Regions from separate parts of the Homo sapiens genome. Here all the other regions are linked to region 2. The links are contacts of gene promoters, found by promoter capture Hi-C in blood cells and fetal thymus (Javierre and others, 2016). All regions are on one chromosome and are shown on one strand. Each heading gives the region's core, a stretch centred on a gene start or on the middle of the fragment in contact. The rest is flanking DNA. Distances are from core to core; before and after follow the strand shown. Region 1 has its middle 34 kb from the start of MIR548A1HG. Region 2 holds the start of KIF13A (kinesin family member 13A). Region 3 has its middle 7.2 kb from the start of NUP153-AS1. Region 4 overlaps FAM8A1 (family with sequence similarity 8 member A1). Region 5 overlaps NUP153 (nucleoporin 153). Region 6 overlaps LOC102724591 (a long non-coding RNA gene).

Evidence for each region. The method cuts DNA at HindIII sites, captures the fragments that hold promoters and counts their contacts. A CHiCAGO score of 5 or more calls a contact.
Region 1: a fragment that was not itself captured here is called in contact with the fragment with the promoter of KIF13A in region 2 in 1 of 17 cell types (monocytes); the score reaches 5.3 in monocytes.
Region 3: a contact is called between a fragment that was not itself captured here and the fragment with the promoter of KIF13A in region 2, in 2 of 17 cell types (monocytes and neutrophils). The highest score is 6.0, in monocytes.
Region 4: a contact is called between a fragment that was not itself captured here and the fragment with the promoter of KIF13A in region 2, in 2 of 17 cell types (neutrophils and monocytes). The highest score is 7.7, in neutrophils.
Region 5: a fragment that was not itself captured here is called in contact with the fragment with the promoter of KIF13A in region 2 in 2 of 17 cell types (neutrophils and naive B cells); the score reaches 5.4 in neutrophils.
Region 6: a fragment that was not itself captured here is called in contact with the fragment with the promoter of KIF13A in region 2 in 1 of 17 cell types (neutrophils); the score reaches 6.7 in neutrophils.

The regions. Positions count from the first base shown.
Region 1 is chr6:18,486,726-18,491,178 of GRCh38, reverse strand. No RefSeq gene overlaps it. Among named protein-coding and RNA genes, the nearest start is that of MIR548A1HG, 34 kb to the left of the region's middle. The HindIII fragment of the contact is 1,213 bases long and covers 1,143-2,355 here.
Region 2 is chr6:17,985,210-17,989,869 of GRCh38, reverse strand. It overlaps KIF13A (kinesin family member 13A), which reads left to right and starts at 2,235. Exons shown (of 39, transcript NM_022113.6): 1 at 2,235-2,461; 2 at 2,726-2,816. The coding sequence starts at 2,407. RefSeq lists silencers at 1,660-2,159, 2,530-2,649. The HindIII fragment of the contact is 11,131 bases long and covers 1-4,660 here.
Region 3 is chr6:17,711,940-17,716,456 of GRCh38, reverse strand. No RefSeq gene overlaps it. Among named protein-coding and RNA genes, the nearest start is that of NUP153-AS1, 7.2 kb to the right of the region's middle. The HindIII fragment of the contact is 3,410 bases long and covers 463-3,872 here.
Region 4 is chr6:17,602,860-17,607,154 of GRCh38, reverse strand. It overlaps FAM8A1 (family with sequence similarity 8 member A1), which reads right to left. Exons shown (of 5, transcript NM_016255.3): 3 at 2,126-2,249; 4 at 1,142-1,281. Among named protein-coding and RNA genes, the nearest start is that of FAM8A1, 4.7 kb to the right of the region's middle. The HindIII fragment of the contact is 6,133 bases long and covers 1-4,295 here.
Region 5 is chr6:17,694,138-17,698,808 of GRCh38, reverse strand. All of the region lies in intron 1 of NUP153 (nucleoporin 153), which reads left to right. Among named protein-coding and RNA genes, the nearest start is that of NUP153, 10 kb to the left of the region's middle. The HindIII fragment of the contact is 986 bases long and covers 2,381-3,366 here.
Region 6 is chr6:17,582,922-17,587,477 of GRCh38, reverse strand. It overlaps LOC102724591 (a long non-coding RNA gene), which reads left to right. Exons shown (of 5, transcript XR_007059485.1): 5 at 1,591-1,687. Among named protein-coding and RNA genes, the nearest start is that of FAM8A1, 15 kb to the left of the region's middle. The HindIII fragment of the contact is 9,051 bases long and covers 1-4,556 here.

The DNA of each region.
Region 1 (4,453 bases), core at 500-2,999, 500 kb before region 2:
ACTGAGTAGCCAGGGCCTCTGGGGCTACGTCTGAATTCTATCTGGCCTGGGCTCTTCACTTATCCTTCAGACCATCAGTATACCCATGGACCATGGGTATAAACTGGTTACAGACCTTGCATAGACTCTACCATGACTTGAGCAACTAGAATACTGTCTGGAGACTGTCACCTTTATTCGGGTTCTTCCCATTCAGCATATCTGGAAAAATAAACAAGACACCCCAGATTCCCATGTCCGTGCCCTCAAAAGGAAATGCAGGGAAATGTTATTTATTTGTCATGATCTGTGGCCTTACCATGCACACAGCTCCTGAAATAGAAGACCAGCATCATTCTGGTTGATTCACTCTCCCCCATATCCAGCAGGTTCATTCTATCTAAATGGCTCTCTTACTCTTCTTCTCTTGTTCATACCCACCATCATATGCTACATCCAGTTAATTATATCAGGTTCATTGCTTTTCTCCCTACTTCTCCCTCAACCTCCTTCCACAAAACTATCAACATAATTTTTCTCACACGTAAGTTTCATCTCGTCACTACCTTGCTCAAACTTTAGCAATGCCCTAGTTATCTTGGAGATAAAAGCTGATTTCTTCAAGTCACTTCAGGATTTGGTCCTCTCCTACCTGTCCATCCATCCTTACATCCCCCCTACTCTTTATACTCCAGTGATTCTAAACAACTTTGGACTAAGCAAACTTGCTGGACTCTTGCATACCTCCAAAGATGTTCCTCTCCCTAGAATGCATCTACTCCCTGGTCTGTTCCCAGTCTTCAGGACTGCCAAATATTCAGTTGACTTGCCCAGTTTCATTCGGCTTCCCACTCACCAGCCAGGACACGTTAGTCCATTTTTTATCTGTGCTCTGTTTCTTCAATTGGCCAAGGTCAGCAAAAGTTTGAGGAGGATTTAGTTCATTTTCCCTATTCCACCATCCCAAGCAAGAAAACCTTAAGGAGCACCCCATAGGGTGGAATCTGACAATGAAGATGACCAAGTGATAGGCAGAACAAGGAGGCAGAAAGGAACTGGATTCTTGGTGACTTTGGGTGCCTGAGTCAAGCTTGCCTGGAGCCTACTCTATATCAAGACTTTTCTGTTTCATCAGCCAACAACTTCCCTGTATTGTTTAAGCTTGTTTGAACTGGGTTTTCTATCTCTTGCAACCCAGAGGAGCTTATCTGATGCAACAGAAATTAATATTATTCTCTTTGAAAGACATAGATTTCCTTAAAATAAATGGTAAAATAATATAAACTTGCATGCACCAAAGGAGCTCAGTAAATGCACCACTGATTAGAGTCAGGGAGCTTGAATTCTACATGAAAATTTGCCTGCAGCTTCTTGAGGCCCTAACCTCTCATGCTTTATTCTTCTATCTGTAGATTGACTCTACTCCTACCAACTCATTCCTTAATGTATAACATAGTTGCTAGTTATAAAGTCTGGAAAGAGTTCTATTGTTCCTTTACATGTGCAGTTATTTAAAAACATTTATTATTTATTGAGCACTTACTATGTGCTTGGCAGTAGGTGTCAAACACAGAGAAAAACCTGAGATATGTTCTAGGCCAAAGTTTGGCAAACCGCAGCTCAGGGGCCAAATGTGGCCCCTCTCTTGTTTGCATAAATAAAGTTTTATTGAAACACAACCGTACTGACTCATTTATGTGTTGACTGGCTGCTTTCACACTACAACAGCACAGTTGGGTTGTAACCACAAAGACCGTATGGCCTACAAAGCCTTAAGTACCTACGATACAGCACTTTACAGAAAAAGTTTGCCAACCTCTGTTCTAGGCTATTTACCACAGCTAAATAAACCTCCCTTCCCTGAAAAACTGTAGCAAAGTATCTTTCACTCACTTTGGTGTAATGCAGACCCAAATGTCAAATTACTTCCCTAGAAAATAAGTATAGGAGGGAGAAAGAAAAAAATTTTAAACATAAATTCAAATGAGTACACTTTTAGTTTCCAGAATTAATTGGTACCACAGATAAGATTCAGGCCCTGTGAACCATCATTAAGGTCTTCCTTGAGAGAGGAGGGGCAGAAACTGTCCTAGCTGGTGTCAGTGAAAATCCAAGTGCAGGCAATATGACTCATTACAAAGAAAAGAGGTTCGCTTGGCTTTTTTTCTCCTTCATCCTTTCCCCTTGCACAGTTTACTTCTCAGAACAAGATTCTGGTTTCAGAAACTATAGGCAGAGACTAAGATAGATAGATAGATAGATAGATAGATAGATAGACAGACCAGCTTATTTCTAAGTATTAATGCAAAGGCTAAAATCTAGAAATTAGGTTTCTGATTTTTTTTGTATTGGTCTATGATGACTCACAGGTAAGCTTCTAGACTAAATAAACTGTTCAGAATAGTTCCCATTCCCATTGTGCATTCAAGGTTTTCATAAAGCTCTTTTGCAGTACCAGGAGGATTAACACCATAATCACTTACATTGTTATACCGTGGAGTGGAAATACCACAGGCCATTGAGGCCAACAGTTGCCTGTTTCAACTTGTTTTGCCACTTACAATGTGCGCAACACAGAAGAATGTATTTTTCTCCCTCTCCTCTGAAACGCAGTTTCCTTAAGAGTATGTGGAATATGAATCCTCGTTTTCTAGAGTTGTTAGGGAATTGGATGAGGTCACGTGGGAAAGCATCTAACACCGTTACAGGCACAGAGCTGTGTTTCCATAAACATGGTTTATTTCCTTCTCCCTATATCCTTCTGTATCTGAGCAAATGAAAAGCATGCCCTAGTCTGAACAAGAGAATCACAACTTCCTAATATTCAGAGTCTTTCCTGTGTTAAATGGAAAACAAAAGTTACAAGTTGAGAGATACAAAGAGATTTAATTGTGTTCCGGGACTTTCTCCTCATTACCTCAACTCCCAACCCCAAGATCAAAGATGAGAATAGGTTTCTATTTGTACATGAACAGAAAGCTGCAGGCATCAATCAGTAGTAACCACTAATGGAAACTTGGCCACTAGTACCCTCTCTGAGTCTGTCTGACACATTTGGATCTAATTGGCAGTCTGCTTTAGAACAGCCAAAAAATATATTGTCATACACATCATGGATCAAAACGGAGGCAAACTTGCTCACAGCCACAGGGTTTTGGTTGCCAAAATTAGGCAAGCAGGTCTGTGGGTTTTGTTTCAAACAGGTAAATGCTTGCTAGCTTATTTAGAGAAAACCTCTAAAAGATCCTGATTTAGCTAGTTTGGATCCAAAACATGAAGGGACAAGAAAAAGCATTCAGGGTGGCTGGCATCTTGGGTGGTCAGAAGGAGAGACCAACCTATTATTTTCATCCTGCCTCCAAGTAAATTGGAAATTAATTAATATTTTCTCTGGGCTTCTGAGTGACATAGGTTTTTCAGTAAGAGAAGTGCCCCAGGCCTAAGCTCGGAAATGTCAACTATACCTAAAAATAATTTAAAATTCACTATGTGTAGGACAAAATGAAATTTCTCCTTTTAATAAAAATCAACAAAAAGAATGTGTCAAGTCCAATATTACACAAAAATACTACAATATTACAAAATTACAAAAAATACTACAATATTACAAAACAATACACTTTATGGTCGAGCAGAAGGTAAATGATAAGTGTTCTCATTGAATACTGTTAATCTTTTTAGTGTCACAGCCCCCTAGAAATGGTGTACCCTCCTCCCAGAAAAATACATCACCATACAACTTTACATGCAATTTCAGTAATCAGTGGGCTTCCTGGGAACCTCCCATGAACCCCCTTGGGTACGATACTTCCTAGGTTAAAGATTCCTGTGTGAAATCTATCAAATGGAAGGACAAAGCCATTTACTAAATGATGACTTACCTTTCTAGGTCTGCTGTGAGTTCTATACAATTATGCCAGCCTTAGCCTATTCCCACCTGCAAGGACCTCCAGCTCACCAGTTCAACATTACTACCTTCATCTAATATCTTCCTACTCTCAGAACCCATTGGAATATCCATTATAGAGAACTAGGAGAGCCATGGCCCAAACTCTTAAATAATCTCAATATGAAATACTGAAAAAGAGGGAGTAAAAAACATTCAGATATGGGAATCATTAATCCAGTCAACAAATGTTTACGGAGCACCTATTATGTGATAGACCCTCTTCAAGCCCCCAGGGGTACCAACTGAACAAAACAGCTATAATATCTGCCTTCACAGAACTTATACCAGGTCCAAAACTTGGCCCACATCAAGTTGTCTAAACTTTGTAAGACTCAGTTTTCCCATAAAGAATGATTATAACTTGCATCTGATAAGTGGTGGTAAATAATGTTTTAAATGGTACTTAGCCCATAGTAGACGTTCAAATATATTATTACCACTGCTATGGGAAAAATAAGATTATGTGACAAGCATGAATTCTTCAGATTATGTATCACAGCAAAAAAGTCTTATACAATCTCCGTT
Region 2 (4,660 bases), core at 986-3,485:
CCTCAGCCTCCCAAGTAGCTGGGATTACAGGCATGTGCCATCACGCCTGGCTAATTTTGTATTTTTAGTGGAGACGGGGTTTCTCCATGTTGGTCAGGCTGGTCTCGGACTCCCGACCTCAGGTGATCTGCCAGCCTCGGCCTCCCAAAGTGCTGGGATTACAGGCGTGAGCCACCGTGCCCAGCCTGAGAGTTTTTTGAACAATAGAATACCATGCACGATTAAAGGATAAAATTTTAATTTTGTGAAAAATCAGTCTGGAAGCTGGATTTAGGAGTGATTAGAGGAGGCAAAGCTAGGAGGGTTAACAGGATGTCTCAGCAGCCCAAAAGTGAAGAGGTAAGCACAGACCTAGATTCTTAGCCTCAGAGGGCTGGAAATTTCACCTCTTTCTGAGCAGCAGCTGAGAGCCTGTAGCCTAAAGCCTACAACAGTGTTTGTAACATAGTAGGGCGCTCAGAACACATTTGTTGAACAAGTGAATGGACAGGTAAAGTGAGATTGCAGCAGCAGGAATGGAGAGGAGGAAAGATGCAACAGGCCCTTCAGAGGTAGACTGAGATAGCTGGCTCTACAATAAGGTGGGGCTGAAGTATTTGTCCTTCAGTGTACACAGGGGACTGGTTCCAGGAACATCCAAAACCATGCATACTCAAGTCCCACAGTCAGCTCTGCAGAACCCACAAATAGGAAAAGTTGGATCTCTCAGTTTTGAACCTGCCAAATACTGTCTTTTCTTTTTTCTCCCTTTTTTTTTTTGAGACAGGGTCTTGCTTTGTTGCCTAGGCTGGAGTGCAGTGGTGCGAACATGGCTCACTGCAGCCTCAACCTTCCAGGCTCAAGTGATCCTCCCACCTCAGCCTCTCCAGTAACTAAGACTACAGGCACCTGCCACCATGCCCGGCTATTTTTTAAATTTTTATGTTTGGCAAGATGGGGTTTCTTTACATTGCCCAGGCTGGTCTCGAACTCCTGGCCTCAAGTGATCCTCCCGCCTCGGCCTCCCAAAGTGTTGGGATTACAGGCGTAAGGCACTGTGCCAGAGCACGAATACTGTATTTTCAATCAGATTTTGGTTGAAAAAAAGCCACGTGTAAGTGGACTCGTGCAGTTCAAACCCGTGTTGTTCGAGGGTCAAGCGTAGCATCACCTCGGTTGGAGGCGGACGGACCCCTCTCCTAGCACCTGCCGTACACTGTCTAGCATAATAAGTCTCCACGCCCTCTCTTCCACCTTAGCGTGTGCCTCTGCATCATGCTATTCATGTTTCTGTGTGTCCTCAACAGCACCCTGCACACAGTAAAACCTCAATGCATCTTCCAATAAGTGGATTTCTAGATTTAAGCAAAATCGAAAGATTCCTGGATCTAAACTCTGGATTTTTGACTTCTGTACGCTTCAAAATGCCTGGCACTCGGTGAGCGCCCCTTAAGCACTTGTTGAACCAAACAGAATAAATCGGATTCGCCCAGTTCCGCCCTGGCAGCGAGGTCTGCATTTGGCAGGATGACAGAATCCATTGCTATTAAATTCTTATGTAAGAGTTAATGGCCCTCCCAGCCCACTTGACATCCCTCCCGAGACAAGAGAGGCCGGGAAAGGAAGGGAGAGCACTATTTACAAACATACACTGTTTCGGTGGTGGATTCACAGATTCATTTCTAGTCTCGGTTCACCACAGAGATCTTAAAATACCGCTGCAGGCTCCGTGTGGGACAGAGGGGGCGGCGTGCCGGGACTCGGAGGGGAAGGCCTGCGCACCCAGCGCGGCGAGCCGTGGTCCTTGCTGCCGTCCCGGGGCTCCGGGTGGCAGCGGCCCCAGAAGGCGGCTCGAGCTCACGGCGGTGTCCGGGGGGGGGCCCCGCGGGCGCCGGTGCAGGCTTGGCCTGGGAGGTCCCCTGGGGAAACAATGCGTCCCGCCCCGGACTCCAGCCTCCCCTAAGCGCCGCGCTGCTCGCCGCTCCTCTCACTGCCGTCCCGCCGCTCCAGGGGGCGCCGCGCGTGGCCGTGTCCGGCCTCTCCCGAGCCCCGGCGGGTGACGGGCGCGGAACATGGCGGCGCGGGGCCCCGGGCAGCCGCGAGGGGCCGCGGCGCTGCGGTCTCGGCTGGGGCGGCGCGGCTAGAGCTGCGCCTGGGCCCGCCGGCGAGGCCTCCTCCCCGCCCGCCGCCGCCGCCGCCGCCGCCGCGCCCCGCCCCGCGCGCCCGCCCCTCCCCGGGCCGCGGCCGTGCCCCGCGTCGCGCTCCCCCGGGATGGCCCGCGCGCCTCGGCGCTGCCTCTCGGAGCTCACGGCGGAGCGGCGGCGGCCGCGCTCGAGGGGCGCGCGGCTGCAGCGGCGGCGGCGCCGCGCGTGAGGGGCCGCCTAAGGCCGAGCGGGCGCGGCGAGCGGCCGGGCGAGCGCAGCCAACATGTCGGATACCAAGGTAAAAGTTGCCGTCCGGGTCCGGCCCATGAACCGACGAGGTGAGGAGCTTTCCGCTCTTTTTTATTTCTGCTCGGGCTGAGGGCGGGGGCAACTTTAGAAACTGCGGGGCCGGGACGGCGAGAGCGCGGCCGGGGCCGGGGGGCCGGGGCGGAGGCGGCGTCCGCGCTGGCCGTGGTGCCCGGGGCGCCGTCTCCAGGCTCGGCCGCCTCCAGGGACGGAGCCCCGCTCGGCGCGGCTGGCGGGCGGGCGGGCTGGAGGCGCGGATGCTGGACTTTGCAACGTCCCTTTCTCTCTGCTTTCAGAACTGGAACTGAACACCAAGTGCGTGGTGGAGATGGAAGGGAATCAAACGGTCCTGCACCCTCCTCCTTCTAACACCAAACAGGGAGAAAGGTAAAGCGGGTTCCGAGAGGGCGGCTGGGAGGATCCAGCCTCGCGGGGTCCCGCAAGTTTGAGCCAGGAAAATGGGAGTGCTCTTTCCTATTGTTAGGAGGACGGCTTCAAGTTTGTCGCCGGCTCCTGTTTGAAGCTGTTGCAAGTCCAAGTTCCTCTCCTCCCTCGCCCCCCTTCTCCTCCATCTAGAGCGGCGGCAGGCAGGGCACCCTGGCCACAGCACCAGTCAGCTGAGCCCGGGCGGGCTGCGAGGCACCCGGGAGGGAGAGGGCCGGATGGGACCCCATAGGTGATTCGTCCAGCGGCCACATTTTACAGACAGGAAAACTGAGGCCCGAGGCGGGCAGGTGACCAGCCCACGACCTTATTGTTCGTGGAACCCAGTGTCCGTGATTCTTTTCATCACTGCAGGGTTTGTTTCCTTTGGCAGAATTGTTTAGGGACAGTGTGTCTAAAATGGGAGGAAAAAATAAAGCAAAAGTCTTGTACGATGTAGACTCAGGCTGGACTAGTTAGTATCTATTTTAGTTGTTGTTGCTGAGTTGAGATAATGCCTCAATGTAATGCGCGAATTTTGATTTTCAAAGAAACAAAAGTAGGGCCCTGAACTGTATAGACACTGAGGGATGTTTAAAAAGGGGCTGTATTTACTAGATGGCAACATATTTGCATTTGAAAAGTGGTAACTGTTGGATCCTTATTAATTCCGTTCTGTTCCATGCAACAGTATGGGTTAACGCCCCAAAATAATTTGAATATTTGGCATTTTTCTAGTAAGCCTCTGAGAAGAAATCGGTTGGAATTCATTCAATATAATAATGCAGTAGCTTGTAAATATATATATGTGAAAAAACGGGAGAGTTTACAATATTAATTTTCATTGGAAATGAATATGAGTTTGTGTTTCCACGAATCACCTGTTGATCGATGGAATACAATTTAGTGAATTTCCTTCTTCAGAGATTTTCACTGAAGAGAGACTCTGAAGCAGGGTTTGTGACATTATTGCTTAGAGAAGCAATGCCTCCATTCTATAATGTGTGGTGTTCAAGCTCAGTTTTGCCAAATTTGGGGAAAGAAATCATGAGGCGATAAGATTGGGGATTCTTTGCTTTTCGTGTTGAGCATAGCAGTTTTTATCCAGTTTGCAAACATTCTGCTACCTTTAGCAGATTCTGGTGGTGATATTAAATAGCTAAGCTATATGTAAAATGTTGTGTTTAACACTGAATGTAGTGTTTATTGTACATTGTACTGAATGTTGTCTAGTAATGGATGTATTTTTAGATGCATTTATAGCAGTGTAGATAGTATAGCATATTTCATGGTGATAGTAAGTAAACTCATTGAGTACATTAAATATTTACAGATTAAATTAGATGCCCATATCACCAACGAATGTCCCCTCCCCCCACCCCCCCGCAAACTGCATATTGTTTCGGGAAAAAATTCTGTTGGGTCAGATTCTTGAAAGCAGTCTGGGGGAACAGGTAGAATACTTTTTAGCTCCTGTTGTGTAGCCGTTACTTGTTTTCCTTGCTGGCTTGGCACCTGCTCCTTGTCACTCTTAACCATAAGCAGTGCGACTGTTAGCTACTGTTTAATGACATGAAGTGTTGTCATTTGTGAAGAGAAACAGATTTGATTTTGTGGGATTTGGTACAATCTATAACTGTGGACAGTTGGTTCCAAATGCTAAGTAATCAGTTGATCATTTTTCGGGCTGAACCACGTTAGTTACTAATCAGGATCTTTTAGGTAAAGATTTGAAGGGTGATTTTGGGATCTATTCATCTGCTTACTTACGATAGTCCCTTATCTGGAGTTATAAAAATAGCATTGAA
Region 3 (4,517 bases), core at 918-3,417, 270 kb after region 2:
GCCCTCCCTGCTTGCTCGTCTCAGCCTCCTTCTCTTTTGTCTGACATCACTCCTTAAACATTTCCTCTTTTCTTTTTCTATATTCCTTCCATATATAGGAAGTTTTCAGTGGAAAATTGCTGGAGAAATTGAAACAAGTGATCTGACCTGTTTTGTTTGGATCTCATGTAAAACTAACCACTGCACTTTTCTTGTTCTTTTCATTAACTTGAAATTAGGATATCCCAATTCCTACTAAAAAATATAAAAATTAGCCGGGTTTGGTGGCAGGTGCCTGTAGTCCCAGCTACTTGGGAGGCTGAGGCAGGAGAATCACTTGAACTATGGAGGCGGAGGTTGCAGTGAGCGGAGATCTCACCACTGCACTCTAGCCCGGGCAACAGAGCAAGACACGATCTCAAAAAAAAATAATAATAATAATAAAGAAGAAAGAAAGAAAGAAAGAAATTAAGGCAGAAAGCTTCTCAGAACTGTCGCGTTTTTTCCCCTCCATCTCAGTTTTGGATTTTCTTTTTTTTTTTGAGACAGAGTTTTGCTCTTTTTGCCCAGGTTGGAGTGCAATTGGTGCGATCTCAGCTTACCACAACCTCCGCCTCCTGGGTTCAAGGAATTCTCCTGCCTCAACCTCCCGAGTAGCTGTGATTACAGGCATATGCCACCACACCCGGCTAATTTGGTATTTTTAGCAGAGACGAGGTTTCTCCATGTTGGTCTGGCTGGTCTCGAACTCCCGACCTCAGTTTTGGATACTTTTCAAAGGACCGTGTTCTAAAGTTAGTGGTGTAGGCAAAAAGTCAGTTCCTCTTTGTTTGTAAACCAAAACCAAACCTTGAGAGGAGACTCTGCTGGTACAGGAGGAGGCATAGTTGTAAAGGCTGGGACCTTATGATGAGGAGTCAAAGAGGCAGAGCTATAGTGGACAAGAGCGAAGAGAGAAAAATGGCATTTCCTTCCCAATTGTCTACTACTCCTGGTGCCCCTTTGTGGATTTGCCTCCTCACTGCACAGCAGCAGACCACTACTTTGCAGAGTAACTGCTGGCCAACATGGATATCCAGTATGAGAGAGACAAGTGATTAAACTCAAGCATCAGCAAGGATGAAGCTAAAATCAATCCTGGGTCTCAGCACTTCGGCTGGAAGGGATGGGCCTAAAAGCGGGTGCTTCTTGTAGGAAGTGCTTATGAGTCACTGCTGACTCATTGAAGGGGCAAGATTTTATGACCAAACAAGTGAAAAAGAAAATGTAACTGTTACTAATTGAAAGCATTTAAGTTATGGCTTGGGTTTAACTGTGGCTAGTTGATGCTCTTTGTTGCTTGGTTGTGGCCTTCTTGGAGGCCTATGGTCTGCTTTGATGCTTTTATTCTACACATTGTATGGGTACATAGTGGAAGCTACACCTTCATGGGGAGAGGGGGAGAGTTTTCTGTAGTTGGGGGTGGTTGTTTAAGTAGGTTTTGCTCAACGTCTGCAAAGTTGCCTTCAATTTGTTTGGTGATACTGCCTTTTTAATACTAAATGTAGAATGATATAACCTCACTCATCTTTGCTTTGGAGAATATTTGAAGAGTTCTTTTTATTGGGTTTTTTTTTTTTTTTTTTTTTTTGGTTTTAAAGAAGCCTACTTTTGGTAGCTCATGATATCCTACTGTCATTATAATGGATCCAAACAAGGTAAGCTACATTGAGGCCACTGGCCATGGATTATAGATATTGGCTTAAAATCATCTTAACTAACCATTATGCTTGTGTAATTGCTCTGTTAAATCAACTCTGCTACCTGTGATGATACAGAATAAGGATGTGCTAAATCCAGATTTTCATTTCAGCTAGTAGCCTAGCTTCCTTTGGAAATAGAAGCTAATGAAAATAACAATTAAAAAATGGTTCATCTCATTTCTGCTCACTTTGTGGTAAAAGTGAAAGTTACTGAATGGTAAAAGGAAAAAAAAAATCTACATGATCAATAAGCTGCTGGCTCATCAATTCTTACTTAAATTGTTGGTTGTTGTAGATGAGCAAGGAACAGAAATTCCTAAGCCTGCTCTTTACAGGAACTTCAGTGACCTCATTATCTGCCCTTGATGTTTAACTGTTCACATGAGCAAACATGCTTCTATTTGGCCTACACAAGGGGTGATGTATGTAAGTTTTTAAATATGATTTTTCACCTTTTGTATTGCACAGCTTTTTAGGCCTTCTCTATTGCAGGAGTTAAGAACAATAGGCATGTTGTGATGACTTCTTCTGGAAACTTTTAGACTAACATATCCATTATTGTTATCAAATTGAACTTTTCCAGAAGTAATGTTTGGAGAAAATACTATGTCCAATTATTGTCTTAGCTTCATAGCAGCTATTTAAGAGGTCAAGCTATGGCCGGGCACGGTGGCTCACGCCTGTAATCCCAGCACTCTGGGAGGCCAAGGCAGGCGGATCACGAGGTCAGGAGATCGAGACCATCCTGGCTAACACAGTGAAACCCCGTCTCTACTAAAAAAAAAAAAATACAAAAAATTAGCCAGCCATAGTGGCGGGCACCTGTAGTCCCAGCTACTCGGGAGGCTGAGGCAGAAGAATGGCGTGAACCCGGGAGGCGGAGCTTGCAGTGAGCCGAGATCGTGCCACTGCACTCCAGCACTCCAGCCTGGACGACAGAGGCAGACTCCGTCTGAAAAAAAAAAAAAAAAAAAGAGGTCAAGCTACTAGAGGTAGGTAATCTAATTGTTTTTATGATTTGTCAAGTAGAAAGCTGCTACCATTCCTGCCTTTACAGTTTAGAAAAATTACAGTTTATTCCAAGTTGCCTGAATTCTCATCTAGCATTCCAGATATATTAGATGCCAATCCAAGCCTAAGAATATTCCCTCCTAGAGTGCCCGCTTGCTTTTCTACCTTAAAAATGATTTTGTGACTACAACGGAATGAGAAAAGTCATCGCAATTCTAAGAAAGTAGCCTGATATTTCTTTTAGGAATTTATCTCTGCTCATAGCTTCTTGGATTAGGGTTTACTTTACATCCATTTTTTTTTTTCATGAATTAGTTCTAAAATAAAATTTTTCTTTTTCTTTTGCAACCAACCAAACAACCAGCAGTGACTAAAAGAAAATTTGTATAAGAAAAGGATACATGGGAATTAGCAAGGGGTTCTTGAAATATCTATGCTTAAGTATATTTCATAACTAATGCTCAGTTTTAGACCCTTAACATTTCAGATGTTAATAACTTCTGCTAGATTACCTTTTTCCTTTGGAAAAAAAAAGTTAATGAAAGAATAATTAAAAAATGGTTCATTCCATTTCTGCTCACTTTGTGGTAAAGGAGAAAGGTACAGAATGATAAAGAAGAGGAAAAAAAACTACATGTTGTATAAGCTGTTGGTTCATCAATTCTTAAATTGTTGATTGTTGTAGATTAGTAAGGAACAGAAGTTCCTAAGCCTGCTCTTTACGGGAACTTCAGGTACCTCATTGTCTTGCCTTCAAAGTTAATCTAACTTCAGATTAATAACTTCTGGTGGCATGGTTTTGAAACAATGCTCCTAGAATGTAATACAGTTCACCTGGTGATCTTGTTAAAATGTAGATTCTGATTGTGTTGGCTTGGGATGGGCAGAGCTGCTTTATTCTAACAAGCTCCCGGGGGCTGCAGCTGGTGCTTGCTGGTCAGAGTAGCAGCAAGAGGCCAAAAGTCACTGTTTGTTTAAACTGGGTAGTTCATGCTTGTCTGATGGTGGTGGGGTGATATGTATGTGAGGGTTGTTTGCATGTTAACTGGTTTGCATGCTTTTGAAAAGGAATGCCTTAATAAGTTAGGGTCTGATAAACTTGAGCATTCTCTACAAATGCTTTTAAAAAATAAAGAAGCTTAGTATTAGCAAACTAAGGTTTGCAAAGGTTATAGTTTTACAGACTGCAACCTTAATAAGTCCAGTTTCGTAATGTAACTGATGAATTATGTTAATAAATAAAACTAAACCAATTGATTTCTTTTTTTTCTTTTTTCTTTTTTTTTGAGATGGAGTCTCGCTCTGTCGCCCAGGCTGGAGTGCAGTGGCATGATCTCCGCTCACTGAAAGCTCCGCCTCCCAGGTTCATGCCATTCTCCTGCCTCAGCCTCCCGAGTAGCTGGGATTACAGGCGCCCACCACCGCGCCCGGCTAATTTTTTTTTTTTGTATTTTTAGTAGAGACGGTGGTTTCACCATGTTAGCCAGGATGGTCTTGATCTCCTGACCTCGTGATCCGCCTGCCTTGGCCTCCCAAAGTGCTGAGATTACAGGCATGAGCCACCGTGCCCGCCCCTGATTTCTTGTATGAGATAGATTCAACAGCATGTGTTTAGAATTTACGTGTAGGTTTTTTTTTTTTTTTTTGAGACAGAGTCTGGCTCAGTTGCCCAGGCTGCAGTACCGTAGCATGATCTCGGCTCACTGCAACCTCTGCCTCCCAAGTTCAAGCGATTCTTCTGTCTCAGCCTCCCAAGTAGCTGGGATTACAGGCATGTGCCACCAC
Region 4 (4,295 bases), core at 1,243-3,742, 380 kb after region 2:
CCTGAGTAGCTGGGACTACAGGGCCCGCCACCACGCCCGGCTAATTTTTTGTATTTTTAGTAGAGACGGGGTTTCACCATGTTAGCCAGGATGGTCTCGATCTCCTGACCTCGTGATCTGCCCACCTCAGCCTCACAAAGTGCTGGGATTACAGGCGTGAGCCACTGTGCCCGGCTATAACTACCAAATTTTAAGAAAAATTTGAAGATGGCAAAACCAAGGTTTCTAGAATCACTTGTTTATATTTCTTGATGTAACAATCCAGCTCTGAATCATTCTGGCAAAAATTGCAGCCAATACCTTGTTTGGCTCAACTGACTACCAGCCACTGACCTCCACAGTTTCCATTATCACTGGTTGTACCTTCCCCCAGCGCTAGATGCCAACAGCTAACCTTGAATACTGGCAGTATTACAAGCTCTCACCTAACAGCAGGAGAAGGATGCACGAATGCATAGCTGTCAAAACTCTGCTGCCTATTCAAGATGGAATAATGACAGGCATGGCCAAATGGAGACTCAAGGCAGACTAGTACCTGACCTAACATCCACAGGTCCAAAGAATAATAAAGCTGATTGTGGAGCACTAATACACCATCAACACCCAAATCATCCTCTCGTATTGTGACTTATAATTCATAAAATGATCATCTTGAGGCAGGGCATGGTGGCTCACGTCTGTAATCCCAACACTTTGAGAGGCGGAGGCGGGTGGATCATGAGGTCAGGAGATCAAGACCATCCTGGTTAACACGGTGAAACCCCGTCCCTACTAAAAATACAAAAAATTAGCCGGGCGTGGTGGCGGGCACCTGTAGTCCCACCTACTCGGGAGGCTGAGGCAGGAGAATGGCGTGAACCTGGGAGGCGGAGCCTGCAGTGAGCCGAGACTGTGCCACTGCACTCCAGCCTGGGCAACAGAGTGAGACTCCGTCTCACAAAAAAAAAAAAAAAAAAATCATCTTGAAAATGTGTACTGTAAAAGAGGTCTACAATCATGTAACACAACTGAAATAAATATTCAAACTTTGTTTTAACTTAATAAATATAAGCCTATCTACTATGAAGAAAAAAACCCCAATATTCTAAAACACATTATTTTCATTAAGTATGTAGTAGATTAAGCTAAGAAAAGGACTTACGTTGTAATGCTAACATTTGAGGAAGGAATCACTAAAACCCGACTTGGTGCAATAAGCACTGATGTATCACATGTCACAACTCGAAGCCCCAGCAGGAACTTCCCTGGGGTAGCTCCACCTGCTCCCCAAATGCAAATTATCTAAGGAAAGAAGGATGATTTAAAAATTACTGGCTCAACTATACCAATTTTAAAGATAAACTTTTCCCACCATATTATTTCATGTTTTAAATTTTTCAAGTTGAAAGAATTGCATAGAATACTCAAAAGTTAACCATTTAACTTTATGCATTTCTGTAGGTCTCTAACATGTCCAATACCACAAGATGTCTGTCTCCTGTAATATTTCTCTATGACTACTATACTTTCTAGTAAGCTGCTTCTGCAGAAAACTACATTGCAATTTACAAGTATATTTTTGGACCACAATCTATAAGTGAAATTTTATTTGAGTTTCTAAGACTGAAAAATATTACAAAGAAATTGTAAAATGTCTCTCTTCCAAAAGTTTTTACTTAATGATTAGTTAAAATTTGGGAAAAAAAACAGAAAAGTAGACATGTGGAAAAGACATGAATAATTATAAATTTCGATTACTTTTTCGTCTTGGGCTGATAATCTAAAATTAGATTGTTGGCTAGGTGCAGTGGCTCATGCCTGTAATCCCAGCACTTTGGGAGGCCAAGGTGGGCAGATCACTGAGGCCAGGAGTTTGAGACCAGCCTGGCCTACATGGCAAAACCCTGTCTCTACTAAAAATACAAAAATTAGCCAGGTGTGGTGGTATGCACCTGTAGTCCCACCTACTCAGGAGGCTGAGACAGGAGAATCACTTGAACTCAGGAGGCAGAGGTTGCAGTGAGCCAAGATCACACCACTGCACTCCAGCCTGGGTGACAGAGCGAGACTCTGTCTCAAAAAAATAAATGTAAAAACATAAAATTAGATTGTTAAATATTAATTCTTGCTGAAGTCAGTAGCTTACCTCATAGAAACAAACTAATAATCTGTATATAAGTGCCACAACCATCATTTTCTGCAAGTCTTCCATTGATGTGTCTTCATCTATTTCTTCTATTATATAATGCATAGCAAACTTAGAGATATCCCTACACAAAATAATAGTTTGGGGTTATAAATAATTAGTTACCAGAACAGTAGCACTGACTTTTTTTTCATTAGTGCAAGTCATACATTTTAATTGAAATTCTAAACTAATCTTTAGATTCCCAACCATCTAGTATCATAAAGCATTCATTAGTTTATTCAACAAATAAGCAGCATTATCATGAGCAGACACTGTACTAGCACGGGGGAAATAAGGGTGAATGAATTTACACGGTCCCTGCTTTCGTGGAGGGTCTAACCTAGCAAAGAAAACAGAACAATAAATAAATAGCAATAATAAAGTGGGATGAGTGCTGTGATGGGGAACCTAGGATACTATGGAAACATACACCAGATACACTTAACCTTGTGAAGGTTTCCCAGAAAAGACAGTTAGATGAGGCTCTGAAGGATGAAGAGAAGTTAGCCAGACTAAGAAGAGGAAATAACGTTCCAGAAAGAGGGAACAGCAGGAGAGAATGTCTTGGAGAAAGAGAGAATATGATAGAAGCTGTAAGCAGTTTGGTGTGGCTCATATACTAAATGTGAGAGGTGGCAGTGATTAAGAAATAAAGGCAGGGTGTGGTGGTATGCACCTGCAGTCCCACCTACTTGGGAGGTTGAGACAGCCTCCTGAGTATAAACCACATGATGAAATTCAGACTTTATCCTGCTGGTAAAGAGAAACCATTGAAGGGGCTGAGCATGGTGGCTCACGCATGTAATCCCAGCACTTTGGGAGGCTGAGGTGGGAGGATCGCCTGAGCCTAGGATTTTGAAAGCAACCTGGGCAACACAGACCCCATCTCTAAAAAAACAATAAACATTTTAAAAAGAGAAACCATTGAAGGGTTTTAAGGTAGGAAAGGAACAGAACCAGGATTTATGATCACTTTGGTTTTATATCAGAGACTGGATTGAGATAAAACAGGAGACTGAGTTACCACTAGAAGGCTTCTGCTATAATCCAAGCAAGAGACGACAGTAATCGGAGTAGGGAGAAGCAATGATGATAAAAAATGGGCCAGGTGTGGTGGCTCATGCTTGTAATCTCAGCACTTTGGGAAGCTAAGGCAGGAGGATCATTTGAGCCCAGGAGTTTGAGACCAGCCTGGGCAACATAGGGAGACCCCATCTCTACAAAAAACAATTTTTTTTTTTAATTAGCTAGGCATGGTGGAGCATGCCTGTGGTCCCAGCTCCTTGTGAGGCTGAGGTGGGAGTGTCACTTGGGCACAGGAGATCAAGGCTGCAGTGAGCCATAATTGTACTACTGCACTCCAGCCTGGGTGACAGAGCAAGACTCTGTCTCAAAAAAAGAAAAATGATCTGGCAGTGAGGAGGTCTGGGGTTGAAAGCTATTCAGAAAATTGAACATAAAGGAGTTGGTATTTCACTGGATGTGGAGTGGAGTGAGAGGGAGGGACAGGGAGGAATCACAGTAACAGGTTTCTGGCAAGGACCCTGAAATTTGACTGCACAGGCTTGTATCTTGACTCTGTCACTTACTACCTTTGTAACATTTTAGGTTCTGTGCTCAACTTTTCATAAACCCAAATTTCAAACTCTATAAAATGGTGGTATTAATCTCTACACCTCATCTTGGTATTAAGATTAAATAAGAATCCACATAAAGAAGTGAGCAAGCTCAATACATGGCATATAGAAAGTACTCAGGAAGTGGTAACTGCTATTATGATTATTGTTAATCTGGAAGGATTACTCAAATAAACGTCTCACTTTGAAGTTCACTTGGGACTTGCCCCACAGTATGTGCAATCCCATTTGGAAATGCCATCTAGTTGATTATTAATTCACCTACCAAAAGCTCTTTATACCTTTGTCTTTAGAGACTCCACAAGATAGCAAGAGGGAACAGGATAGTGAGAGGTAAATTAGTTCCTGGCCTAAAAGAATAGGTGAATAAAATCAAAGCAGGTTTGGAGGCTCTTTTTACCTATTTTTGATAGGTGAGATTCCCACACATCTTATAGAATTCAGTAAGCTATTTTTTTTCCTTTCTAGTTATTTCTTAAAATCAACAAGAA
Region 5 (4,671 bases), core at 1,624-4,123, 290 kb after region 2:
CTCCGCCCCGCTCTGGGATTCAAGTGATTCTCCTGCTTCAGGCTCCCAGCTCTTTTTTTTTTTTTTTTTTTGAGACAGAGTCTTGCTCTGTCGCCCAAGCTGGAGTGTAGTGGCGCGATCTCGGCTCACTGCAAGCTCTGCCTCCCGGGTTCACGCCATTCTCCTGCCTCAGCCTCCCAAGTAGCTGGGACTACAGGTGCCCACCACCACGCCCCGCTAATTTTTTGTATTCTTAGTAGAGATGGGGTTTCACCATGTTAGCCGGGATGGTCTCAATCTCCTGACCTTGTGATCCGCCCACCTCGGCCTCCCAAAGTGCTGGGGTTACAGGCGTGAGCCACCACGCCCGGCTGCTCCCAGCTAATTTTTGTATTTTTTCGGTAGAGACAGGGTTTCGCCATATTCCCCAGGCTGGTCTCCAACTCCTGGACTGAAGCAGAACCCCTGCCTTGGCCTCCAAAGCACTGAGATTACAGGCGTGAGCCACGGTGCTTGGACCTGAATCTAGTTTCAATAATCTGAATTTAACATCCAAATCTAAGACATTATTGGTTGTATTTTATAAGCCTATGCCATTCAGCAGCGAAGTTTACCCTATCCAATCAGTCCAAGTCCTCTAGCCATTTAAAGTACTTTTCTAGCTGAAGAATTAAAAACCTGCTCCCTGGGAGAATAAGATTCCAGAACCTTAAAACTGATGATGGACTGCATTTGATATTTATAGTTAAAGATCCAGTGAAACTATTTGAGAAAGGAGATTTTATAATCTGAACACTGCTAAGGATAATGTGAAGAAAAGGGAGTTGAACAGAACTGAAGTCAAGAAAACTAGTAGGAAGAAAAGAGCTTTGTATAGAAGGAAGGAAGGATATATAGGAATGACAAGGAGTTGGCCATACTGAAAAGATGCCTCTGGTTATTCCTGTGAAAAGGTTTATAAGAAAAGAATGTCGTTAATTACAAGTGAGTTCTGAGTTAGTGTTATAGAATAGCCTTCCCCCACCCCAGCTGTTTCTGAGTTAGTGTTATAGAATAGCCTTCCCCCACCCCAGCTGTTTCTGAGTTAGTGTTATAGAGTAGCCTGCCCCCACCCCAGCTGCCTTTCATTAATCCTTTTTTTTGAGATGGAGTCTCGCTCAGTCGCCCAGGCTGGAGTGCAGTGATGTGATCTCGGCTCACTGCAACCTCTGCCTCCTGGGTTCAAGCAATTCTCCCTCCCTCAGCCTCTCAAGTAGCTGGGATTACAGGTGCCTGCCACCACGCCTGGCTAATTTTTGCATTTTTTAATGGAGACAGGGTTTCGCCATGTTGGCCAGGCTTGTCTTGAACTCCTGACCTCAGGTGACCTGTCTGCCTCAGCCTCCCAAAGTGCTGGGATTACAGGCATGAGCCACTGCGCCCAGCTCATTAATCCTTCAACTCAGGTTAAATATAATTTGAAAAGCTAATGTATTCACAATACCTTATACGTTGAATGTTCCTGATATGTATGTAGTATTGAATTCTAATCCCCAGATTGAATTTTTAATTAGTCTAAATCTCAGTGGCATTTTTGACATGTTTTGCCAAATGAAGAACCCTTCTTTCTTGGAGAGAGAATACCCAGTGGATTTAGCCAGTTCACATTCTAAAATTCACTCCTTTAATCCTTGAACTTAAATTTATTATTTATGATTATGAAGTGTGGACTTTGCTTTAGGGCCACAGAGTATTTTTTAAGATTAATTTTTTTTTTTTTGAGACGGAGTCTTGCTCTGTAGCCCAGGCTGGAGTGCAGTGGTGTGATCTGGGCTCACTGCAACCTCCGTCTCCCAGGTTCAAGTGATTCTCCTGCCTCAGCCTCCTGGGTAGCTGGGATTACAGGCGGACACCACCTGCCAGCTAATTTTTGTAGTTTTAGTAGAAATGGTATTTCACCATGTTGGTCAGGCTGGTCTCAAACTCCTGACCTCAAGTGATCTGCCCACCTCGGCCTCCCAATGTGCTGGGATTACAGACGTAAGCTACTGCACCTGGCTGTTTTTTAAGATTTTATTTATTTGTTTTATTTTTTTGAGATGGAGTCTTGCTCTGTGGCCCAGGTTGGAGTGCAGTGGCGCCATCTTGGCTCACTGCAAGCTCCGCCTGCCGGGTTCACGCCATTCTCCTGCCTCAGCCTCCCGAGGAGCTGGGACTACAGGCATCCACCACCACACCCAGCTAATTTTTTATATTTTTAATAGAGACGGGGTTTCACCGTGTTAGCCAGGATGGTCTCGATCTCCTGACCTTGTGATCCACCCGCCTCGGCCTCTCAAAGTACTGGGATTACAGGCGTGAGCCACCGTGCCTGGCCTTGTTTTTAAATCTTAAAGCACTTTTCAGGTCCATACAGAAAGCTTATTTCCCTCATGCCTGCTTATTTCCTGTAAAGACCTGAAGAACTCTTCTCTCAAGAACTCCTCAAAACATAGGTGGGTTACATTGGGCCTTCCTTGGTAGTAAGGTCAAAGGAACCTTTTCTTCCATAAGAAAACCGTTTTTCCTCTTGTCAGACTCTTTTTACTCTTATTTGTTAGTGGCTGAAGTCTTTAGTACTTCAAAACTCTTTTAAAAAACTGCCAGTCAAGGAGGTACCTCTCCAGATCTGTTTGGTAGGCAGGGTCCCTTAACTTTTTTGGGGTTGGTTGGTTTGTTTGTTTTGAGACAGTTTCACTCTTGTCACCCAGGCTGGAGTGCAATGGCACGATCAACTGGAACATCAACTTCATTTTATTTTCAAAAAATTGTTCCAGTATTTTCTTTTTCTGTTTTTTTTTTTGAGACGGAGTCTCACTCTGTCACCCAGGCTGGAGTGCAGTGGTGCAATCTCAGCTCACTGCAAGCTCCGCCTTCCGGGTTCACGCCATTCTCCTGCCTCAGCCTCCTGAGAAGCTGGGACTACAGGTGCCCGCCACCATGTCCAGCTAATTTTTTGTATTTTTAGTAGAGACAGGGTTTCACCGTGTTAGCCAGGATGGTCTCGATCTCCTGACCTCATGATCCGCCCACCTTGGCCTCCTAAAGTGTTGGGATTACAGGCGTGAGCCACCGTGCCCAGCCCCCTGTTAACTCTTGATAGTCTCCTTTCCAATACTGTGCATATTTCTTTTCCGTAGTAGTTTTTTAAAAATTTCTAATGTCTTATAGTTGGCTGTGCATCATAAACACATATTCTGTGTAAGTCTTTAACGGTGGAAATCAACTCGAAGGTCGGCTTTTATGTTAACTTCTCATTGATTTTTCAGAGTTGATATTAAAAATATGTTTATAAATATGTGTTTGGTAGACAATAAGATACTAATTAAAATGGTGGTCTTTTAGGTAAAATTCTATTGTAGTTAAGCTTATAATCATGGTTATGTATACCAAGGCCTTAATTAGAATAACAGGTCACTGAGTTTTTGATGGTTTCAGTATAGTGGTTCTCAAACATTAATTTGCAGAAGAATCAAATTCAAGAGCTTATTAAAATAAATTTGCCTTTCTAATGAGCTCATAGGCTACACCAATGCTGCTGATCTGAGAACTACACTTTGAGAACCACTGTTTTAGTCCTTTTATAAGTGACTAGATATATAAACTACAGAACTAAAGATTACACAGATTGTCACACATGGGTATGCACACAATTTAAAGGGAATTTTGTGAGATTTAAAGCTATTTTAAGTTTTACTAGATTTAGCATTTATTGATAAGGTTACCAGAAGCTTTGAATTGCATGATCCAAGGACACGCCTGTATTTGGGTCTTAGCACCTTTTTGTTCGTTCAGTCCATAGTACTTCCCACTCTCTCTTTTTTTTTTTCCTTGAGACAGAGTCTCGCTTTGTTGCTCAGGCTGGAGTGCAGTGGCGTGAACTCTGCTCACTGCAACCTCTGCGTCCTGGGTTCAAGCGATTCTCCTACCTCAGCCTTCCAAGTAGCTGGGTCTACAGGTGCCCACCACCATGCCCGGCTACTTTTTTTTTATTTTTAGTAGAGACGGGGTTTCACTATGTTGGCCAGGCTGGTCTTGAACTTCTGACCTCGTGATTCTCCCTCTTCAGCCTCCCAAAGCGCTGGGCTTATAGGAGTAAGCCACCGTGGCCCCAGCCCCATCCTTTATTTCTTTTTCTTTTCTTTTCTTTTTTGTGAGACGGAGTCTTGCTCTGTCACCCAGGCTGGAGTGCAATGGCGCGATCTTGGCTCACTGCAACCTCCGCCTCCCAGGTTCAAGCGATTCTTCCCCCTCAGCCTCCTGAGTAGCTAGGATTACAGGCATCACCATCATGCCCAGCTGAATTTTGTATTTCTGTAGAGACAGGGTTTCACCATGTTGGCCAGGCTGGTCTTGAACTCTTGACCTCAGGTAATCCGCCCGCGTCGGCCTCCGGAAGTGCTGGGATTACAGGCGTGAGCCACCGGGCCCAGCTCCTATCCTTTATTTCTTTATCCCAACCTTCATCTCTGTAAAACAGTACATAAATGGACCAGAAAAGGGTCTTTATCCTGGTGAATATTTTAGAATCTATACTAACTCATGGAGGTAAAGGCAAACATTACTATTCTTCATTCAATCAATACTTGCTGATCACATACCACATGTCAAGCATTAAATACAGAGGATACAGCAGTGAACAAGTTCCTGCCTTCTTGGAGCTTATGTTCTAAG
Region 6 (4,556 bases), core at 114-2,613, 400 kb after region 2:
TAAAAAAGAATACAGATTGAGAGAGTCATAGGCATACAGATGGCCCTTGAAATGACAAGTAGATGGAAAACAATGAAACAAGAAAAGAAAGCCAAGAACAGAGAAAAAAAAACAGAGATGGAGAAGGAATAGTTAGTGAGGTCGGTAGGAAAGTAGGATTGAGTGGGAAGAGAGACTTTCCATAAGAAAGGAGTCATGTTAGGGTTTTCCAGAGAACCAGAACCAATACAGTGTGTGTGTGTGTGTGTGTGTGTGTATATGGGTGTGCGTGTATGTATATGTGTATATATATGGGTGTGCGTGTGTATGTGTGTATATATATGGGTGTGCGTGTGTATGTATATGTGTGTATATATGGGTGTGCGAGTGTATGTATATGTGTATATATGGGTGTGCGTATGTATATGTGTATATATATGGGTGTGCGAGTGTGTATATGTATATATATGGGTGTGCATGTGTATGTATATGTGTATATATATGGGTGTGCGTGTGTATGTATATACGTATATATATGGGTGTGCGTGTGTATGTGTGTGTATATGAGTGTGCGTGTGTGTGTATATATGGGTGTGCGTGTGTATGTATATGTGTATATATGGGTGTGCGTGTGTATGTATATGTGTATATATATGGGTGTGCGTGTATGTATATGTGTATATATAGGTGTGCGTATGTGTATATATATGGGTGTGCGTGTATGTGTATATATATGGGTGTGCGTGTATGTGTATATATATGGGTGTGCGTGTGTATGTGTATATATGGGTGTGTATGTATATGTGTATATATATGGGTGTGCGTATGTGTATATATATGGGTGTGCGTGTGTATGTATATGTGTATATATATGGGTGTGCATATGTATATGTGTAAATATATGGGTGTGCGTATGTATATATATATATATGGGTGTGCATGTGTATGTATATGTGTATATATATGGGTGTGATTCCCAGTCCAAGGTCAGAAGACCAATGTACCAGCTCAAGCAGGCAAGCAGGAAACAAAAAATGGAAGAATTCCTCCTTCCTCCACTTCTTGTTCTGTTCAGGCTCCCAACAGATTGGATGATGCCCACACACATTGAGGCGGCCAACCTGCTTTACTGAATTCACCAATTCAAATGCTAACCTCATCTGGAAACACCCTCGCAGACACACTCAGACACAACGTTTAATCTGGGTGCCCCTTGGCCAGTCATGTTGACACATAGAATTAACCATCACAGGAGTTACATCTGGTGTGAAAACCACAAAGAAATCAGGAAGGATGAAAACTGTGGTGGACATTTTCTCTTTTGACCACACTACCTCTTTTTTCCCCCCTTCTTTTGGAGAGAGAGAATTTCCACTTAACTCTTCCCCCAATGTGTGCACCTGTGCTAAGACTCTCAGGGCATTCTGCACTGCTCACTCCAAGCCACCAGGTGGGTATGTGGCCCGAGCTCAGCAGATTGGACTGACTTATGAGGACTTGGAAACTTGAGCCAAGTGATCCAAGGATGGAATAAATGTAGTGCCAGCAGAGGGCCCTTATCTGATAAGAGTGTTGATTAACTCTTGCTACCTATGCTTCCTTTAATTTCAGGAGCTGTGATTGGTTGATTGATTTTGAGGCGGAGTTTCACTCTTGTTGCCCAGGCTGAAGTGCAGTGGCACAACCTCTGCTCACTGCAACCGCTGCCTTCCAGTTTCAAGCGATTCTCCTGCCTCAGCCTCCCAAGTAGCTGGGATTACAGGCGCCTGCCACAACGTCTGGGTAATTTTTGTATTTTTAGTAGAGATGGGTTTCACCATGTTGGCCAGGATGGTCTCGAACTCCTGACCTCGTGATCTGCCCGCCTTGGCCTCACAAAGTGCTGGGATTACAGGCGTGAGCCACCATGCCTGGCCTATTATTTTATTTTTTGAGATGGGGTCTCGCTCTGCTTCCCAGGTTGGAGTGCAGTGGCATGATCATGGCTCACTGCAACTTTGACCTCCCCAGGCTCCGGTGATCCTCCCACCTCAGCCTCTCAAGTGTCTGGGATTACAGGTAAGTGCCACTATGCCTGGCTATATTTTTGTGTGTTTTTTTTGTAGAGACGGAGTTTCTCCATTTTGGCCAGTTTGGTGTCGACCTCCCGGGCTTAAGCGATCCACCCACCTCAGCCTCCCAAAGTGTTGGGATTACAGGCGTGAGCCACTGTATCCAGCTTGTGATATACTTTTAATAAATTTCTCTTAAACTTAAATTAGCAAGTGCTTGTTTATCATCCTTCCAATTAGAGAACCTGGATTCGGCCATTAGGAAGTCAAGGGTGGCATTCATTGGGAAGTTTCATGGGGTGAGAGGTGAAAGGCTGGCTGATGGGGGAATGGAAGTGAGAAGTAGAAATAATTGCATTCTAATCTTTAAGGAGTTGTTTTTTGGGGGAAGAGAAGCTGTTAAAGAAGTAGCGAACTATTTTTAACCACGCTTGAACCCATCGTTTGATAGGGTGACTGAAAAGAGAGTTCCTGAAACTTGGGCAGCCATAAATCTATTGTTTTGTTATGAATTTCTCTAATTTTTAGTGAGATAAACTTACTTTTAGTTTATCAACATATTTCAACTATTCTTACTAGTCATATATGGCAACCCTGCCCCAAGATGTCACATTGGTCTCTAAAGTGTTTCCTTCAGAGTAAGGTTCATCTGATTTGATACACTGATAGGAAGCAAGTTGTAAAAAATAAAGCCACTACGGAAGGCTTCTTTTGTAAATAAGATACCCAAGCACCAAATCAATGATTACACTGAAAAATAACTTGATTTTGGTACTAACTTTTGGAAATACACATAAAATAGGCTTTCTCTTCTCCAGCCTAACGTGGATTGAATTGCTATACTGTGTAATGATTTTCTGCCCCCTAATGGTTGTTCAAAAGCATTAAGAAATTTGTCATCTGCTTGAAAACATTTTCTATTATAAGAAAATATTTTCTTTATAGCACATTTTTAATTTTATTTTAGGAATTCGAAATGACTTAGAAATGTGTCATCATTCACAAGAGGCCCGTGTTACTCTTAAAAATAGGCCGATCTCATAAAACAACTGCGAACCTCATTATATAATGTGAACAGACAGGATTTTAGGCAACCAGTAGGTGGAGGAATTTCCAAAGCTAAGAACACCACAGGCTCCAAAACCCAACTTCAGAGCTGAGGGCCTTAAAGTAATCTGTTCAGCCTTCTCCGCTTTATACTAATAGAAGACTGTGGAGCAGCTCTGAGATATATGCTCATAGAAGTACATCGCCCATGATATTCTGGCAAAAGGAAAGACTATTTTAGATTAGGATTGGATTTTACTTGTGAAATATGAGATTGGGGCCAAGAGAAAGCATTGCTTTGGGTAGGGATAGCATGAGATTAAAAAACTGAAAATAAGTCGAGTGTGTGAAGAAAATGACTGTGACATACGAGAGGAAGGAAGCCAACAAGAGAGTGCCGTGGGTAGATGCTAGAAAGGGTGACATCATGCAGAAAGGTCAGGGAGGGAGGCTGAGTTTGGCTTTGGTCCAGTCAGCAATAGAAGGCTATTATGAAAGACAAACGTAAATATTTGTAAAATATAGTGTTGGTACAAACAAATATAAAAAAACATTGAGTTGCTTCTGCTGCTCCTTCCTTTTTTAGACCTGGAAACAATGAATCCAGAGGGAACAGCCACAGACGCTCCTGAGCACGTCAGTTTAGGCCTTCTGTGCCTAACGCAATTTCTTCCCTTAGAATTTGACCCTTGCCTGTGTCACCCAGCACTCATCCCATACCTCCTCCTGACCTCCCTGCAAGGTGGAGCCCACCAACCTGATCGCTGATCTTACCCTCCTCGTTAAGACTTACTCTATTACATCATCTTATCATTGACATGAAGTGGAGACCCAATGCCTGGCCAGTCTGAAGCTGTACACACGTAGGACATTAACTGAAACCTCAACTAAACCTCATCAAATTCCCACTTACTCTGGCTCCCCTTTCTCTATTTTTTAATTAAAAATTTTTGTATTATTCCTATTCTATTTTCCTGCAAACAGAGGCCCCCCTTCTTCTTGCACTCAAAAAATTCCACAATTCTCCTGGTTTCTTCATTTTCCCTCTTTTCACAGGCCTATATACTCTTCCATGTTTAATATCCTGGCTCATTTTATTCTTACTAACCATGAGAACTTATCTTTTTTATTCAATAGACTGTCCTCACTCTTGATCAATTTTATGCACTTAAATAGGCCATGTCATGTTTTTGCACATCAGACTGGAAAAATGACTAAGAGAGGTGGTATCCAGAGTTGACGAGGTTTGGAGAAAAACAGGTTCAGTCATTTGTGGAAGTATAGGCTTAGACATTTTTCGAAGGATAATTAGGCAGCATCCACCCAAATTCAGAATATCTGAGCCTTGTGAATCCTTAATCCTTTTAGAAATCTACCTTACAGAAATATGAGCACTAGAATAGAGCAATACAAGTCAAGCGTATTTCCTGTAGGATTATCTACAAAAGCAAAACAAAGAAAATAAATGAGACAGCCATC